3 separate regions of the Homo sapiens genome follow, and regions 1 and 2 are each linked to region 3. The links are contacts of gene promoters, found by promoter capture Hi-C in blood cells and fetal thymus (Javierre and others, 2016). All regions are on one chromosome and are shown on one strand. The core of a region is centred on a gene start or on the middle of the fragment in contact, and the rest is flanking DNA. Distances in the headings are between cores, read along the strand shown. Region 1 holds the start of MIR12126 (microRNA 12126). Region 2 overlaps TOR1A (torsin family 1 member A). Region 3 holds the start of GPR107 (G protein-coupled receptor 107).

The links. Contacts are between HindIII fragments. The CHiCAGO score rates a contact against its expected background, and 5 or more counts as called.
Region 1: a fragment that was not itself captured here is called in contact with the fragment with the promoter of GPR107 in region 3 in 1 of 17 cell types (erythroblasts); the score reaches 5.1 in erythroblasts.
Region 2: a contact is called between a fragment that was not itself captured here and the fragment with the promoter of GPR107 in region 3, in 3 of 17 cell types (naive CD4 T cells, activated CD4 T cells and naive CD8 T cells). The highest score is 6.4, in naive CD4 T cells.

What each region holds. Positions count from the first base shown.
Region 1 is chr9:130,239,438-130,242,643 of GRCh38, forward strand. MIR12126 (microRNA 12126) reads left to right here and starts at 1,950; the gene lies at 1,950-2,051. RefSeq lists enhancers at 232-411, 492-671, 1,193-1,487. The HindIII fragment of the contact is 900 bases long and covers 1,249-2,148 here.
Region 2 is chr9:129,816,299-129,819,520 of GRCh38, forward strand. It overlaps TOR1A (torsin family 1 member A), which reads right to left. Exons shown (of 5, transcript NM_000113.3): 3 at 2,447-2,622; 4 at 2,222-2,349. Among named protein-coding and RNA genes, the nearest start is that of TOR1A, 6.2 kb to the right of the region's middle. The HindIII fragment of the contact is 9,361 bases long and covers 1-3,222 here.
Region 3 is chr9:130,052,489-130,055,562 of GRCh38, forward strand. It overlaps GPR107 (G protein-coupled receptor 107), which reads left to right and starts at 1,418. Exons shown (of 18, transcript NM_020960.5): 1 at 1,418-1,585. The coding sequence starts at 1,445. It also overlaps a transcript of FNBP1 not described here. RefSeq lists a silencer at 1,406-1,715. The HindIII fragment of the contact is 2,204 bases long and covers 1-1,589 here.

The DNA.
Region 1 (3,206 bases), core at 449-2,948, 190 kb after region 3:
GCAATGAAGGCAGGTATTAGATCAAATTCTGCCAGAAGTCCAGATATTCACTGTCAAGTAAGTACAAAGACAGGCAGGCACCTGTACCTGTCCATCCAGGGGGTGGGGGCCCCAGGACCCCAGGAGCCCTGCCCCTGAGCACAGTCCTGAAGCACCAGGCTGCTTGCTGCTCTTCCCTTGTGGTGCACAGTGCTGAGCTCTGAAAATCTTTGTAGCCAAGCATGTATCTTCACCACATTACACTTCTATGAAAAGGGACTTCTAACATCCTTTGTGTGGATAAAATCTGTGGTGTAGGTTTTAATAAAAGTACATATTTAAAATGCTAATATGACACCCTCTGGAGGGCTGATTCCTGACTAGACTGTTTCACACACTTGGGGACTGTCCCTGAGGCAGAGATTGGAGGTAATTTACATACCCACACAATGTGCTGTTTCCACCGAAGCACTGAAAGTAAATCTGTGCACGGGCGCCTGTCTTTGGAAATACCAAGCTCTGGTTCAGAAGGCCGTTGTGAGGGCAGCTGGGGCAATGTTTCCAGCAGAGGGTGAGCTTGAACGGGGGTGAGCTGTTGGTGGAGGAAGCTCAGGTCTTTTCCAGCAGCCTTGGGCGTGGTGCCTACAGGGACCACGGTTCAGAAATGGTGTTGCTGAGGGCACATGATGGGTCATGGTCCCTTGCTCTGCTCGAGTCAGGCTAAAGCCTGTGCTGACTCACCCCCTGGCCCAGCCTGCGCTGGATGGCTTACTGTGGGCTGAAGCTCAGTAGAGGCACAGACCTGGCCACCTGCTTTATCAGGATGGCTCAGATTGGCTGCTATTCCCTGGGTGTGATAGCACCAGTGAGTCCTCCTAGAGGGACCATCCTAGAGGTCCCATTTCTCCCCACCTCGGGCCTTCCACCCTGTCCCCACTGACCCTGCCAAGCCCCAAACTCACATCTGCATATTAGAAAGTATCTCTCTAAATTGTACTCCCCAAAGCCCAGCTCAGGGCATCCCCAGGCATACAGAGGAGATGACAAGGAGAAGAGTAGGGAGTCGGGCTGGGAGTGGGAATGCAATGTGGATCCCTGCCCTACAGTGGCCCCCTCCTCCCTGCCATCTTCCTGCCCAGGGAGTACAGAGGCAGAAACTTACCCTCCAGGTTCATTGGTCTGGAGGAACTGGTTCAGGACAGTGGGCATGGAAAGGGGCTGGGAAGGCCCCCTGAACTTAGGCAAAATGAGCTTGTGTAGGTATGGAAAAGCTTTCTACTTCTTCCCCTTATCTCTTTTTAGCTGGGCACAGGGCCATGTGGAACAAAGGACTACATTTCCCAGCCTCCCTTGTGGCTGAGTGCGGCCATGTGACCCAGTTCTATCCAATAGGATGAGAACAATGAGCATAACTTTCCCTCTTCCCTCTTCCTGCTGACTGGATGGAGGACTCTGAAACAAGCCTTCCTAGAACTGGGTCTTTGACCCCATGGAGCTGCCACACCAGCTTTGGACCATTTACACTGGAGCTCTTAGGAGGAAGAGAGACACACATTTATCTTGATTAAGCCATCCTGAGTCTCTGTGTCAACAGCCCAATTTATATTCTCCCTAATGTACCCAGTGATCTGCTGGGTCGCTTTCAATGACCTGATGCCACCTGCAAATGTTTGCATCGAAACTCTCAATGTTTGCCAAAGTGACTTAATAAACAACCATACAGTGCCATGTGCTGGTGTAACTACTGCTTGCTCATGCCTTTCCCACCCGTCTTCTGCCTTTTCCCTCTTCCTGTCCCAATATGCCCTCCTCCTCCAAGGGCTCAGGGGACTGAGGGTCCCAGCCAGAGGGACTCCTGTGGGAAAGACTTTCTTTTGCAGAAGCACTAGGGACCTAGAGGCTCTAGGTTATTGGGGAGCCCAGGGCAGCCCCTGAGGACCGGGCCAGTTGGGTTTTCACTGGGTAACCACAGGAAGGGGACTGGGCAGGCTGGCCTAGGGTTGAGCTCAGGAAGGATTCTGCCAGGGGTTTCAAGACTTGGGGACCAGACCTTTTCTTGTCTCTACAATTTCCTTCCTCAGAAATTGCTCCCTTCCTCCCAGAAACCTAAAATAAGCCATCCACATGAGCAGATCTTGGGGATAAAAAAATATGATAAAGAGTAAAACAAGCTTTTTTCTGACAGTCAGGGAGAAGGGTGGGAAGAGTCCCTTTGGTATCATTGTCAGATGACTGAGAGTAGGTCCCGTTTTAGTCACTGGACTGTTGGTTGCCCCCAGAGGTGAGGGGAAGTCTTTGTGATATTGTGGAGTGCCCACTTTATTCTTTGAGGATTCTGAAGACCCAATTCCTATGTTGGGCATCAAGAGGCCCTTCCTGCCTTAGAAGGGGCAGATCTGTGGAATGCCAGGGGCCCGAGCTGGGACCTGCAGGGGAAGGTGCAAGTGCTGGCCTGGAAGGAGGGAGAAAGGGAGCTCCCAGGCCAGACGTGGTGGCTCACGCCTGTAATCCCAGCACTTTGGGAGGCTGAGACAGGCGGATCACTTGAAGCCAGGAGTTCGAGACCAGCCTGGTCAACATGGTGAAACTCCACCTCTACCAAAAATACAAAAATTAGCTGGGCATGGTGGCGTGTGCCTGTAATCTCAGGTAGTCGGGAGGCTGAGGCAGGAGAACCGCTTGAACCCAGGAGGTGGAGGTTGCAGTGGGCCGAGATCACACCACTGCACTCCAGCCCGGGTGACAGAACGAGACTCCATCTCAAAAAAAACAAAAAGCAAAAAACAAAGGGAGCTCCCAGTCATGGGAAGGGAATCAGAGGGAACCCTGAGGTTCGGATTCTACCCCCATGCTCGTCCATCAGATCAACTAATACAAGCTGGATGCTGCTTAAGTGATTTCTAGGCAGAAGCCTAAAGCTAACCAGAATCCTTCACCCATTTCCACAGGGATGAATGAGAGCCTGGAGTGTATATGCTGGGCAGCCACAGTGCCAGGCTTCTGCCACAGCCTGTGATGAATGCTAGCCTGGTTCAAGAAGGAAGGCCGGGGGCGGTGGCTCATGCCTGCAATTCCTGCACTTTGGGAGGCCGAGGTGGGTGGATCACTTGAGGTCAGGAGTTCGAGACCAGCCTGGGCAACATGGCAAAACCCCATCTCTACAAAATACAAAAAAATTAGCCAGGCATGGTGGCACTCACCTGCAGTCCCAGCTACTCAGGAGGCTG
Region 2 (3,222 bases), core at 163-2,662, 240 kb before region 3:
TAAAGCAGAGCCCATCCTTACCCTGAACCCCAAAGCCTTTCTTGATTTTTTTCCCCTACTGGCCCCGGGGGGAAAGATATCTATATGTCCACATGTGTACATGTGCGATGTGTGCATATGTACTGCATGTATACACACAAACACATCACACACATCAACATATCTATCCCCCATCATCTGATACATTTTCTTTCTTTATTATCACTAGGATGTAGGATTGATAAGGGCAAGAATTTCTGTGTTTGTTCACTGCTGTGTCCCCCGTCCTAGGTATGATGCCTGGCACTTACCAGATGCTCCATATACATGTGCTGAATCAATGTTCAGCCATCTGCCTGAGGTCACAGTCAGTCTGTGGGCCAGGGCTGCCCGACTCCCAGGTTGGCACTCCTAAGCACCGTGTAACCTCCACAGCGTGGATTCTAGGCCACGGGGCTCATCTGCCTCAGCATTAGGCTAAAGTTTCCACTGCATGTGCTCATGTTTTTTGGCAAGGCAAGAAACTATCCAACATGTTACAAAATACTTGTCTTTCCTCAGTAGTATTCCACTTGCACACACTGACATACTGTACCCCATGCTGTTCACTAACTGTAGGATTAATTTCTTGGCAAGTCTGTTTCAAATGAGCCCTTCTGTTTTGTCATCTCCAGAACCTGAAGCGCAAAGACTTGAACAGCCAGCCCTGCACAACTCACAGGTCTTAGCCAGTGAGTCAGCCTCCATCAGGCTGGCTTTCCACCTCCCCAGGTTCAAGGTCAAAGGTCTCATGACATTTGGAGAAGTAGTGAGCTAAAACTTAAAAGCTCAGGTTTTAGAATCAGAGATACCGAACAGGCTGCATGGCCCTGGGCAAGCTGCCACATCTCTGAGTCTCAGTCTCTACCCTGCGAGGTATGGTGAAGACTGAGTGAAATCCGCAGGCAGGCTGTTTCACACGGTGCCCAGTACAAAATAAGGGCCGAACCGCTATTTGGCTGTTGCTCTTGGGCAATGCAGAGAAAGGGAGGAACTAACAGGTCATCTCTCCCCCTGAGCTGCCCACGGCATCCTTCCTTGCTCAACCACTGGCTCTTTCTTCTACAAAGAAAATCATGTAGCTGAAGAAAATGGGGGAACTGGCCAGGCGTGGTGGCTCACGCCTGTAATCCCAGCACTTTGGGAGGCCGAGGCAGGCGGATCACGAGGTCAGGAGATAAGACCATCCTGGCTAACATGGTGAAACCCCGTTTCTACTAAAAATACAAAAAATTTGCCGAGTGTGGTGGCAGGTGCCTGTAGTCCCAGCTACTCGGCAGGCTGAGGCAGGAGAATGGTGTGAACCTGGGAGGCAGAGCTTGCAGTGAGCCGAGATCGCGCCACTGCACTCCAGCCTGGGCAACAGAGCGAGACTCCATCTCAAAAAAAAAAAAAAAACAGCAGGCCAGGTATGTAGCTCATGCCTATAATTCCAGCACTTTGGGAGGCTGAGGCGGGAGGATGACTTAAGTCCAGGAAGTCAAGACCAGCCTGGGAAACATAGGAAGACCCAGTCTCTACCAAAAAAAAAAAAAAAAAAAAAAAAAAAAATTAGCCAGGCATGGTGGCGCAAGCCTGTGGTTCCACCTACATGGGAAGCTGAGGCTGGAGGATCACTTGAGCCTAGGAAGTCAAGACTCCAGTGAGCTGAGATCACACCACTGGACTCCAGCCTGGGTGACAGAGTGAGACTCTGTCTCAAAAAATAAGCTGAGCACAGTGGCTCACGCCTGTAATCCCAGCACTTTGGGAGGCCGAGGTGGGCGGATCACCTGAGGTAAGAGTTCAAGACCAGCCTGGCCAACATGACAAAACCCCATCTCTACTAAAAATACAAATATTAGCTGGGCATGGTGTGCACCTGTAATCCCAGCTACTCAGGAGGCTGAGGCACAAGAATCGCTTGAGCCCGGGAGGCAGAGGTTGCAGTGAGGCAAGGTTACGCCACTGCACTCCAGCCTAGGTGACAGAGTAAAACTATCTGAAAAATAAAAATAAAACAGCACTTGTCAAACATTAGTGTTCATAAAAGTTACCTGGAGTTCATCAGCAAAGATTCCCCTCATGACTCGGAAGGGGACTGAGAATCTGCATTTCTTTCTACCCAGCTCCCAGGTGATGCTGACAGTGACCCTGATGCTTTTAACACTTAGGGTGCAGGATTAGGAACCAGATGGGACTGGCGGTGGATGGCCCTACTCACTGTTCTTGTTATTGAAAACCGACACAGACAACGCGTGTTCAATGTCTTTGAGCTTGATGTCTTCCCTCTGCTTTCCACTCCTCCAGAAATCCAAAGCCACATCTGTGATCCTTTCTGCTCCAGCATTGCTGCAAAACAATCCCAGTGGGTAAGGACAGGGTTTTCTCCTGGAGCTCAGAGGCTTGGGCTCGGGGCCCATCCATCATGTCCTAGCCCTGACCTTACCTGAGAAATATGAACATGGCTTTCTGGTAGGAGACCCCATCCACCAGGTCATAATAGTCGAGGAAAGGCTTGATGGCATCTATGAGGCCTGCATGCATCTTATCCATTTCATCAAATATGAAGATGGACCTCGCACAGGCACTCACGTTGCCTCGAATCCACAACTGTAACTGATCCTGAATTAAAAGGGGAAAAAGCGAACACAAAGTTCTCAGCCAGGGCCATCAATCAGCTCCTTCTACCACTAAGAACCGCAGCTTCACTTACAGACCACTGTGCACTCGGCACTAAGAACTTTACATGCCCAAAATCTTCTTTGTTCCTACCAACCCCATGGAGTGGGCACTATCGTTCTCATTTTACAGATGAGGGAACTGAGGCACAGAGAGCGCTTACTCCACTTGCCCAAGACTATATGTGGCAGAGCTGGGACCTGAACCCAGTCCTGTCTCACTCCAAAGCCCGATACTTTGGTTACGGTTCCCGCACTGCGAGATGCCACACGGATGCTGTCAGAGATGCTGCTCTTTTGTCATCAAAGGGGCAATGTGGGATGTCATGAGGATACTGATTTTTATTTAAAAAGGGGGTGGGGTCGGGCATGGTGGCTCACACCTGTAATCCCAGCACTTTGGGAGGCTGAGGCAGACGGATAAGTTGAGGTCAGGGGTTTGAGACCAGCCTGGCCAACATGGTGAAACCCCATCTCTATTAAAATACAAAAATTAGGGCCAGGCATGGTGGTTCATGCCTGTAATCCCAGCACTTTGGGAGGC
Region 3 (3,074 bases), core at 168-2,667:
GTGGCATGATCTTGGCTTACTGAAACCTCTGCCTCCCAGGTTCAAGTGCTTCTCCTGCCTCAGCCTCCCCAGTAGCTGGGACTACAGGCGCGCGGCCGTGATGCCCCGCTAATTTTTGTATTTTTAGTAGAGACGAGGTTTTGCCATGTTGCCCAGGCTGGTCCCGAACAACTGACTTTCAAGTGATCCGCCCGCCTCGGCGTTCCAAAGTGCTGGGATTCAGGCGCGAATCACCACCCTGCCAGGCCTCATTTCGTTTTTAGTACAGTATTATATTCAAATTTAAAACCAGAGATTTTCAAAGATGCCACTTAACTTTAAAAGATAAAAAGTACTCCAAAGCAGGTTGGGCGCAGTGACTCACGCCTGTAATCCCAGCACTTTGGGAGGCCGAGGCGGGAGGATAACTTGAGGTCAGGAGTTCGAGACCAGCCTGGCCAACATGGGAGAAACCCCGTGTCTACTAAAAATACAAAAATTAGCCGGGCGTGGTGGCGCAGGCCTGTAATTCTAGTTACTCCAGAGGCTGAGGCAGGAGAATCGCTTGAACCCAGAAGGCGGAGGTTGCAGTGAGCTGAGATCGTGCCATTGCACTCCAGCCTGGGTGACAAGAGCTAGACTCCGTCTCAAAAAAAAGAAGTTCCTATAATTTCTGAAAGAAGCAAAGAAAGTTTCCATACAGAATTAAGAGAAAAATGTTAAGACCCAGACTTGGGGTTGGATGAAATAGCATGAGGCAACAGAACACAGGAGTTAAGAGCTTCCGTGTGATTCCCAGCTCAACCTGGAGCAAATGACTTATTTCTCAGAGCCTCAGTTTGCTTACCTGTAAAGTAGGAATAATGATAATACGTACCTCCTAGCTCATCAAATTGTTCCAAAAATTAAATACAACAAAAGGCCTAACAAATTGCCTCATAAGGGCTCAATCAATCGTATTATTGCAACCATTTCGCTTGTATTTGAGTGTGAAGCGCCTAGAAAACCACAGGACCCCTACGGCGAGCCGGGAATTTTTAGATATTTTCCTCCGAGTCAACGCTCAGTGAAATCAGTTCAATCAGTGGCCCGACACCGTGCGGCTGACACAGCTTATCCCCCGACCCTGAGATCAGGGGTCCCCGGAGCCCAAGGTCGCTTCCAAAGCTCAGCGAGGCGGAGGTGCGGCCCGGGCTGGTCTGGTTCGGCCACCGTTGTTATGGCAACCGCCAATAGGTTGGCTTCATCTCTAACTGAAAGTCTGCACAGGAGCGGCCGATCGAAGGGCCCCGAGGTGGGCAGCACAGGCTCCTCGACGACTTCCTAGGTCGCAATCTCCAGGAAAACGACCACAGGGTCAGCGGAGCTAGCCGCCGAGCCCCGCTCCCCGGGCCCTTCCGGCGGCTGCGCCCTTTCACCCCGGACGTGGGCGGGAGAGGAAGCGGCTGGTGATGCTGGAACAAACATGGCCGCTCTGGCGCCCGTCGGCTCCCCCGCCTCCCGCGGTCCTAGGCTGGCCGCGGGCCTCCGGCTGCTCCCAATGCTGGGTTTGCTGCAGTTGCTGGCCGAGCCTGGCCTGGGCCGCGTCCATCACCTGGCACTCAAGGTAAAGCTTGGCAAGGCCGGGCCGGGGGGCGGAGGCCGAGGCCACTCCCCGGGTTTTAGGGCAACTTTGGCCCATTGGGGACCTCTGAGCCACTGGACCACCTCTTTGCCCCTGGCTGCGGCCTTTCACTGACAGGTGGCGGGGTCTGTGGGGAAGGCGGGTCTGGGCGGCGCTGGGGTCTTCGGGCTGACCGGCACGGGGCGGGAAGACTCGAGCTGAGGGAGGGGAAGGGGCTGAACTGTGGCGTTGCCCCCACGGACTCGGGAGGCTGCTCTTAAATCCCTGCTGGCTTCCCTGAATTCCTCACTCAGGGCAGCCCGATCGCCTTTCTTCTTTCTCCCCTCCAGCTTTTATGCTGGCTTTCCTTGTCCGCGGTCTCCGCTCTTCTGTGCCCTTGTACTGTACCGGCGGTTTGAAGGTACTTGGAACCTTAGCCTCAGTTTCCCATTTCGGTTTAGGGCGCTCTCTGGAGCGAGACTCTAGAGAAGGAATTTCAAATCTTGCTTAAAACACGTGACTGAGAATGTAAAGCCAGCATTAAGGTGTGTCTCTAATCAAAGGGCCTGCTTTTTCTTCCTCTATCCAGCCATTGTCTAGGGAAGAGAGATTTTTGATAAACCTAGAATGATACTCTGGATCTTGCTTTGTAACTAGCAGAGAAAAGACCTCTAAGGCTGAAACGCACCCTAAGGTGGTTCAGCAGTTTACTATATCTGGGAAATTGTCCAGGTGCTGTGGCTCATGCCTGTAATCCCAACACTGGGAGGCCTATGCAGGAGGATTGTTTGAGCCCAGGAGTTCGAGACCAGCCTAGTCAACGTGCTAAGGACCCCCTCCCCAAACCTGTCTCTACAAAAAATTAAAAATTAACCAGGTGTGGTGGCAAACGCCTGCAGCTTCTGGGGAGGCTGAGGCTGGAGGATCACTTGAGCCTAGGAGGTTGAGACTGCAGTGAGCCGTGATTACTCATTGCATTCCAGCCTGAGGAACAGAGCAAGACCCTTTCTCAAAACATATAAACAAAATTAGAGACATAGAAAAGTAAATTGTTATGACCCAAACTCTTGTACATTATTTTCATACCATACAGTCTTCTAAGAAGTGGAACTGTAGGCGGGGCGCGGTGGCTCACGCCTGTAATCCTAGCACTTTGGGAGGCCGAGGCAGGCAGATCACGAGGTGAGGAGATCGAGACCATCCTGGCTAGCACGGTGAAACCCTATCTCTACTAAAAATAAAAAAAAAATTAGCCAGGCGTGGTGGCAGGCGCCTGCAGTCCCAGCTACTCGGGAGGCTAAGGCAGGAGAATGGCGTGAACCTGGGAGGCGCTTGTAGTCCCAGCTACTCGGGAGACTGAGGCAGGAGAATGGCGTGAACCCGGGAGGCGGAGCTTGCAGTGAGCCAAGATCCCGCCACTGCACTCCAGCCTGGGCAACAGCGCGAGACTCCGTCTCAAAAAAAAAAAAAAAAAGAAGTGGAACTGTAGAAA